Linked DNA regions of Homo sapiens: regions 2 and 3 are each linked to region 1. The links are contacts of gene promoters, found by promoter capture Hi-C in human tissues and cell types (Jung and others, 2019). All regions are on one chromosome and are shown on one strand. The core of a region is centred on a gene start or on the middle of the fragment in contact, and the rest is flanking DNA. Distances in the headings are between cores, read along the strand shown.

The links. The method cuts DNA at HindIII sites, captures the fragments that hold promoters and counts their contacts. A contact is called where the count stands out against the background at its distance.
Region 2: a fragment that was not itself captured here is called in contact with the fragment with the promoter of ZNF76 in region 1 in 1 of the 25 tissues and cell types used here (spleen).
Region 3: a fragment that was not itself captured here is called in contact with the fragment with the promoter of ZNF76 in region 1 in 1 of the 25 tissues and cell types used here (neural progenitor cells).

Annotation. Positions count from the first base shown.
Region 1 is chr6:35,258,437-35,261,115 of GRCh38, forward strand. ZNF76 (zinc finger protein 76) reads left to right here and starts at 1,299. Exons shown (of 14, transcript NM_003427.5): 1 at 1,299-1,405. SCUBE3-AS1 (SCUBE3 antisense RNA 1) reads right to left here and starts at 1,019. Exons shown (of 4, transcript XR_001744102.2): 1 at 854-1,019. RefSeq lists silencers at 1,282-1,401, 1,412-1,731. The HindIII fragment of the contact is 24,264 bases long and covers 1-2,679 here.
Region 2 is chr6:35,740,747-35,743,425 of GRCh38, forward strand. All of the region lies in intron 3 of ARMC12 (armadillo repeat containing 12), which reads left to right. Among named protein-coding and RNA genes, the nearest start is that of ARMC12, 5.1 kb to the left of the region's middle. The HindIII fragment of the contact is 4,861 bases long and covers 1-2,679 here.
Region 3 is chr6:35,592,617-35,595,295 of GRCh38, forward strand. The region is part of intron 6 of FKBP5 (FKBP prolyl isomerase 5); the gene reads right to left. Among named protein-coding and RNA genes, the nearest start is that of LINC03135, 50 kb to the left of the region's middle. The HindIII fragment of the contact is 3,978 bases long and covers 1-2,679 here.

The sequences.
Region 1 (2,679 bases), core at 49-2,548:
CTCTGGTCCCAGCCAGAACAAGTCAGGAAGAGGGGATGTCTAAGACCGAAAGGGGGGCTTTCTAGTTAAGCTCTTCAGGCAGGAGAGGAAAAGGATGCCCGCATCCCCAAAGACACCTTTAGCTACCACAAGCCCCAAACCCCGTACTTTGTAACTGTGTCTAGTTTACGTCCTTTAAAAATTATTCTTATTAAGTTAAATTGTTTTCGGGGCGGGGAAGATACAAAAGAAACCAGTTAAAGTCTGAAAGGATAGAGAGGGGAAAGTTTCTCACCTCATTCTTCCAGCCACCCAGTTCCTCTCCTAAAAGGCAATCTTTACCAGTTCCTTCTCTAACGCCCCTCCTTTTTAATTTGATTTTTTACCGAAAGCTCGCTCCCTTTTAATTTTCCCTCAGGTTTCTGAAAATTTCCCAATCGCAGCCCCTCCCAGCAGGGAAATAGTAAAGGGGCTTGGTTTTTATGTTCAACCCAAAGCAAGCCTACAAAAGGGAGTAGTCGGTTTCGAGCCTGACGGTGGAGCTGACGCGGGAATGAGAGAGAACCTGAGAAGACCGCCAGGGCGCCCTCCCTGCGGAGGCGAGTCCCTCACCGCCCCTCTACATCGTCCTTTTCAATAAGGAGCTCTTAATACCTGCAACTGCTTCCTTCAAGGGGTGGCTGGAAGATCAGTAGGCAAGGCCTGCGGACTGCGCACCTTAAAGCGCTTCGGGACCGTAAGACAGTGAGTGCTGAGCGCGCGGCCGGGAAGAAGCCTGGAGGCTCTGAGCTCGGAGGACAGAGACCGAAGCCCCAGGGCCTGCGTCCCTCACAACCTGCGCCTCCTGTCCTCCCGCGCTACTCCCGAAGCGCACCTTCTCGCCCGCAGGCCGCAGAAGTGATGACGCAAAGCCCTCGGGGCCTCCGCCACCTCCTCACGCTTCTGCTGGACCGAATCCTTGGAATGGACAGGTAGCGGTTCCCGATTGCTATAGCGACGACCCGGCTCCGAGCCGCGCCCAGGCCCTGACCCGGGCGTCGTGACGTCAGCACGCCTTCCCTGGGCGCTCAGCCTCGCTGGCCATGCGTCACCCCGGCCTTGGTGGGGGCGGGGCTCCGAAGAGCTCGGTTCAGATCCCGGCCGCCTGGGCTCCAGGAGCCCCGGAACCAGGATAAGTTGGATGGCTGCCGCGGCGAAGCGGGGGGCGGGGTGGACCGTGCCCGGTATTTTCTATACGGGTTCCGGGGCCCGGTAGAGGCGCGCCAAGAGGAAAGGAAAGTGCGGCGGCCCTGGAACCTGGATATCGCGCGAGGCAAGCTGCGCGCGGGCGGGCGGGCTATGGCGCAGGCGGGTTGTGGGGCCGGCGCTGGTGGCGGGGCCCGGTGCATGGCGGTCTGTCGGCGGAGTCGCCCTCGGGGGCTGTCAGGTTGGTGGCTGCGGGAGGAGTGGGCCAACCATGCCCAGGGCGGGAGGCCGGGCGGGCGCAGGACCCCGGGAAGGTCCCGAGCCCGGCGTGCCCACCTCCCTCCGGCCCTAGCAGGGCGGCCTGGCCGCTGGACCGCGGCCGGGCCCCCTCCCCCACCCAGGGTCCCTGCCCCTCTTTTCCGCCTTGCGGCTCCTCCCCCGTGACTCCCAAACCTCACCCCGTGACGGCGCCCGCCTCCACCCTTGTGACCCCACACCCCACCCACTGACCCCAAGACCTCACCAGGTAACCGTTGGTTATTATTCATTGGCTGCTAACCCAGGAATTTCCCCAGCACTTCTCAGAGACCCACCAACCAGTGACTCCCTCAGTTTTAATCCGGTGACTCACATGACCCTGAGATCCCCACACTCCTCCTTAGTGACCCCCAAACCTGGGTAACCCTCCTGGCCCAGTAACCCCCCCGATTCTACCTTGTGTTCCCCACAAACTCGGTGACTCCCCTCAAAACTCTGCTGGCGACTCCTAAGCCCTACTCCAATAGTTTTCCACGCACTCACCTTGTACACAACCCTCAGTATCTTTATCCTGTAGCCGTATGACCCTCGTTCCACGTCTGCCTTTATCCTAAAATCACCCCCACTGGCATCTCTCTCTGCGATCCCAGCCCTTCAGTGTCAATCAGCACATGACTTACAAGCGTCCAGCACCTTTCTGGTGCTAAGGAGGATATAGAGATTAATATGAAGTAGTAATAATTGGAGGCATCAGAGAATTCTGGATCAATCCAGAATCCAGTCAATCCAGTGTGTGGTCCCAGCTCTGTCACTGCTGTGCTTTAGGGACCTGTGAGAAGTCCCCTCCTCAGTCTGGACCTCAGTTTCTCATCATGACTGTGATGAGGTTGGGTTAGATGATCTTTGAGTTTCCTTCCGTCTGTGAAATTGTGAAATTATGCAGTTCTCAGTCAAGATAATAATTTTTTGCAATCATTTTTGTACCCCACCCTGGAAATTTCCTCTTGTAACCTCATCCCAGGATCTGCTTGCATCATGAACCTTACTCCCTCATTCCCGGATCACCCTCTTCACTCTTCATAGTGCATACCCATTTCCCTTGATCAGGCCCCATCAGTTAACATGTTTGCAAAGCAGTATAGCAGAGTGCTTCATTTGGGGGCATTGAGTTCATAACAAACCTAGGTTCCAGACTGATTCTGGCCCTTCAGCTATGGGACTTTTGGTATATTATTTAGCCTGTCTTAACTTCAGTCT
Region 2 (2,679 bases), core at 72-2,571, 480 kb after region 1:
GGCATAGCAGATAATAAAGAGGTAAAATATAGTCTGGTATGTTTTTAAGCTTCATGTACATGGAAGTAGATGGTTTCTATTCTGTGGTTGGCCTTTTCTCCCTGCTACGTGGAGAGATTCATCCTTATTGGGCAGCTCTGCTTCCTTCTGGTTTTTTTTTTTTTTTTTTTTGAGACAGGGTCTCGTTCTGTCGCCCAGGCTGGAGTGCAGTGGCGTGATCTTGGCTCACTGCAGCCTTGACTTCTCAGGCTCAAGCAGTCCTCCCACCTCAGCTCCCCTAGTAGCTGGGAGTACGGGTGTGCTCAGTGAGTACGGGAGTACTATGTTTCTCAGGCTGGCCTTGAACTCCTGGGCTCAAGCAATTCTCCCCCCTGGGTCTCTTTCACCGCTCTGTGGTGGTCTCTTTCGTGAATACTCTGCCACTTGCCCGTTGTTAGGCATTTGCATTGTTTCCAGGTGCTTGTCACACTCACATTGTGCTGTGAACATTCCTGTGTTCGTCTCCCTTGTGTGCCTGAGAGAGGATTCTAGGGTGTGTATGCAGGAGTGGAATGGTTTGGTCAAAGGGTATGCCCAACTTTTCCAGGAGGGAGGTATCCATTTTCACCCCACCAGCCCTGCACGAGTGTTCTATTGTGTCATAACCTAACGTTTGATAATTTCACATTTTAATTTTTTTTTTTTTTGAGACAGAGTCTTGCTCTGTTGCCCAGGCTGGAGTGCAGTGGCACGATCTCGGCTCACTACAACCTCTGCCTCCCAGGTTCAAGCAATTCTTGTGCCTCAGCTTCCAGAGTAGCTGGAATCACAGGCGTGCGCGCACCACCATGCCTGGCTAATTTTTTTGTATTTTAGTAAAGACAGGGTTTCACCATGTTGGCCAGGCTGGTCTCAAACTCCTGGCCTCAAGTGATCTGCCTGCCTCGGCCTCCCAAACTGCTGGGATTACAGACATGAGCCACCATGCGTGGTCCACATTTTAATTTTTGGCATCAAACTTTTTTGGGGAAAAAATTCTCTTTACATGTATCCTCAAAATATGCACAACTATGATATATCAATAAAAGCAAACACACAAAAGAATAAAAATAGATTGAGAAACAAACAGAAAAAAATACCTAGAGAGATCTCTGCTTGCTGCCTCATCCCTCAGCCTTCTCAAGTGCAGTGGTACGATCTTGGCTTACTGCAACCTCCACCTCCAGGACTCAAGTGATCCTCCCACCTCAACCTCCCTAGTAGCTAGGATTACAGGCATGCACCAATATGCCCGGCTAATTTTTGTATTTTTTTAGAGGTGGGGTTTTGCCATGTTGTTCAGGCTGGTCTCGAACTCCTGAGCTCAAGTGATCCACCTGCCTCAGCCTCCCAAAGTGCTGGGATTGCAGGTGTCAGTCACCACACCTGGTCAGGCTGTGATTCTCAAGCATATTATAATCACCTGGAGAGCTTGTTAAAAGCAAAGATTTTGGCTGGGCGCAGTGGTTCAAGCCTGTAATCCCAGCACTTTGGGAGGCTGAGGTGGGCAGATCACCTGAGGTCAGTTCGAGACCAGCCTAGCCAACATGGAGAAACCCCGTCTCTACTAAAAATACAAAAATTAGCCGGACGTGGTGGCGGGCACCTGTAATCCCAGCTATCCGGGAGGCTGAGGCAGGAGAATCACTTGAACCCGGGAGGCAGAGGCTTGCAGTGAGCCAAGATCACGCCACTGCACTCCAGCCTGGGCCACAGAACGAGACTCTGTCTCAAAAAAAAAAAAAAAAAAAAAAAAGCCCAGGGAGTTCAGTTCAACAGGAGAACTTTGTTTTTCACAAATCCCCCAGGAAATTCTGATGCAGGCGGCCTGAGTCCCACTCTTCCTTTTTTTCCCCAGTGTCTTTATGCTGAGGGCCTGACCCCTGGTCTCTTTTCAGGTGAAAGTAGTTACTCCTTGATCTCAATTTCCATCTAGCTGTGCCCTTCTGGATCTCTGCAGCCTGTGGGCTCCCCTGCCTTCCCCATGGGCAGCTGCTACTAGGCATATCCACTTAGATGCCCTCCAAGTTCTCTAACCCAACATATCCAAAATGGAGCTCACCCCATTCCCTGAATCAGCCCACTCTCTCCAGAGGGCTCTTAGGCCATCAGGCCCTTTGGGTCTGCCTCAAGGCTCTCAGCATAAAGTGCGTGATTGGCCATGGGCTGCACCTCCTTGCCCTAACCCCAGCCACGTACAATGCATGCTTTATGCTCTCACATGCCCCCTTGCTGCTGTTCCCTCGTTCTGAAACCCTGTCCCAGACTTGCTGACTCCAACCTGTCCTGCGGGTCGCCACGGCTTTTGAGGGGTGGGGGAAGGGAAGGGCAGGTACTGATGGGAATGCTCACTTCCACTCCAGGACTCTTGCTTACTTCTTACATGGCTCATAAAGGTGCAGCTCGTGAGGTTACCTGTCTTTGGTAATGCCTCTAGGTCCAAGCATCTTACTTTTTTTTTTTTTTTTTGAGACGGAGTTTCGCTCTTGTTGCCAAGGCTGGAGTGCAATGGCGCGATCTCAGCTCACCGCAACCTCCGCCTCCCGGGTTCAAGTGATTCTCCTGCCTCAGCCTCCCGAGTAGCTGGGATTACAGGCATGTGCCACCACGTTCCGCTGATTTTTTGTTTTTGTAGTGGAGATGGGGTTTCTCCATGTTGGT
Region 3 (2,679 bases), core at 59-2,558, 330 kb after region 1:
GCACATATTTTCTGAGAGCATGTTATATTTGGAGTCCTGTGCTAAGCAGTTGCAAATGCAACAAATGATCTGGCATTTGCCTTAGACCAGCAGATCTCAACCAGGTTGATTTTAACTCCTCTTCCCTCCAGGAAACCTTTGGCAATGTCTAGAAATATTATGGGTTGTCACAACTATGGGGGTGCTACTGGTATCTGGTGGGAAGAGGCCAGGAATACTGCTGGATATTCTACAATGCACGTGACAGCCCCCTATGACCAAGGATTAGCAAGCCCAAAGTGTCAACAGTGCTGAGGATGAGAAAATCTGCCTGTGGGGAATGTGGGGCTGTATCAAGGGAGGCACCAAGTGTCCTATTATTGATGGGATTAAAGAAGACTAAAGAAAAATATTATTTCTACAATCTCTCCCAGGTTAAAATGAAGCGATTCAGTCAAGATACGTGTGGCGCACATGATCCTGCAGAGGTGGAAGCCCACGCCAAGATATTCTGGCAGCACCTACCCTGACTTCCATATTACACAGAAAGTTGTCAGCCTGGGTGAAGAAGGAACCAGGGCACCCAACTCATCTGACTGAAAAACAAAACACCACAAGAGGAATCCCAAGACCTAACCAAAAGATAATCTAGACTATGGTAACAGAAGGAATTCAGCGTTAATGCCCTTGAATTAAGAGTTTCCTCCAGAGAATAGAGATACAAATAATGACTATGAATGACCATTAAGCCTTAATGTGCATATAAGAAGCACTTGGACTACAAGCTCTTACCAATTGCTCCCTTTTTGCAGATAAAGACACAGAGTGCTTCCTGAGAAGTCACACACAGGCAGTGGTAGAGCCAGGTTTAAATTCAGACCCTGTGTGTCCCCAGAAAATCAGGTTTTTTGGACTCATACTGCCTCATAACTAGACATTATGGCTCTTGGTAGTCTGTTTTTTTATTTTTATTTTTGAGACAAGAGTTTCACTCTGTCACCCCAGGCATCGTGCAGTGGCATGATCTCAGCTCACTGCAACCTCCGCCTCCTGGGTTCAAGCGATTCTCCTGCCTCAGCCTCCCGAGTAGCCGGAATTACAGGCATGCACCACCACGCCCAGCTAATTTTTATATTTTTAGTAGAGACGGGGTTTCACCATGTTGGCCAGGCTGGTCGCGAACTCCTGACCTCAAGTGATCCTCCCGCCTCGGCCTCCCAAAGTGCTGGGATTACAGGTGTGAGCCACCTTGCCTGACCAATAGCCTGTGTTTTTGTTTGGGGTTCATGCGTGACAGAAACATAAGGAAAGGACGGAAAAAAAAGTTAAAACTATATACACTTGACCTAAAACAAAAAAGATTTATTAGTCTCAGTATTTAAAACAATACAAAGGGAAGATATTGTCCCAATGAGGAGAAAGAAAAATGGATTGTCTGGAAATGTTTTATGACTTTCTTATTATGAAGACATTCTAGGCCAGGTGTGGTGGCTCACACCTGTAATCCCAAGCACTTTGGGAGGCTGAGGCTGGAGGACTGCTTGAGCCCAAGAGTTTGAGACCAGCCTGGACAACATAGTAAGACCCTGTTTCTACAAAATGAAAAAAATCAGCCAGGCAGGATGGAGCACACCTGTAGTCCCAGCTACCCAGGAGCTTGAGGTGGGAGGATCCCTTGAGCCCAGGAGTTCGAGGCTACAGATTATGCCACCCTACTCCAGCCTAGGTGAAAGTGAGACCCTGTCTCGGGGGGTGGGGGAGGGACAGAAAGAAAACATTCTTCCCGAGAGTCTATCAGAGTATCAGAGTCACAGAGAAGGTCTGCCTTGGAAATTTTCTGGAGAATGAAATACAGATGACACTAAGAGCTATTTGCAGATATTTTCTGCAACAGCCATACTTATAGCAACATTTAGATGCAATGTTTTATGAAAGTGGGAAGCTGAATAAAACAAGTAAATTCACTGCCTGCACTGAAAACATGCTTAGCATGTAGGGGTTTTCTATACACACACACAGCATGCATACACACACACATATATAGCATGTAGGGGGTTTTCTATACACACAGTATGCATACGCACACACATATATAGCATGTAGGGGTTTTCTACATATATATGTAGTACTACGCAATGCATATGCAGCAGTCTCATATTACAGAGAATGCACTTCACATAATTCTCCAACATACCAACACCTTGAACAAAAATAATGTTCCTTTCTAAATATGCTAAATTATTTCCATAAAACTCATAAACTTTTATACCTAGAAATTTATGAAAACCTATTGACAACTTTTATGCCTGAAAAGATCTGAAAGATTGATCTCATGTTAAACAGGATTTCCTTTTTCTTGTGGTCCGAGGGTAAAATGGAAGAGAAGGTGAGCCGTCACAATAGCAACAAAAGCTCACACACTGCGGGCTCATGTGTGCCCTATATGTGCAGGATTTTATTTAGCTCTCCATAACTTTATGAGATGGATACTGTCATCCCCATTTACAGAGGGGAAACTGAAGCTTAGGAGGGTTAAGTGCCTTGGCCAAGCGCACAGAGCAAAGTGTAACCACTAATGATACAACAAACAGTTTAAATCTGTAAAGAACTGTTTGCGTTAAAAAATTTAAAGACAATTTCTATTTTTCTTTGTCACTAAACTTGAGACATCTGTCCCCACAATTGCCTTGTCAGCCAGGC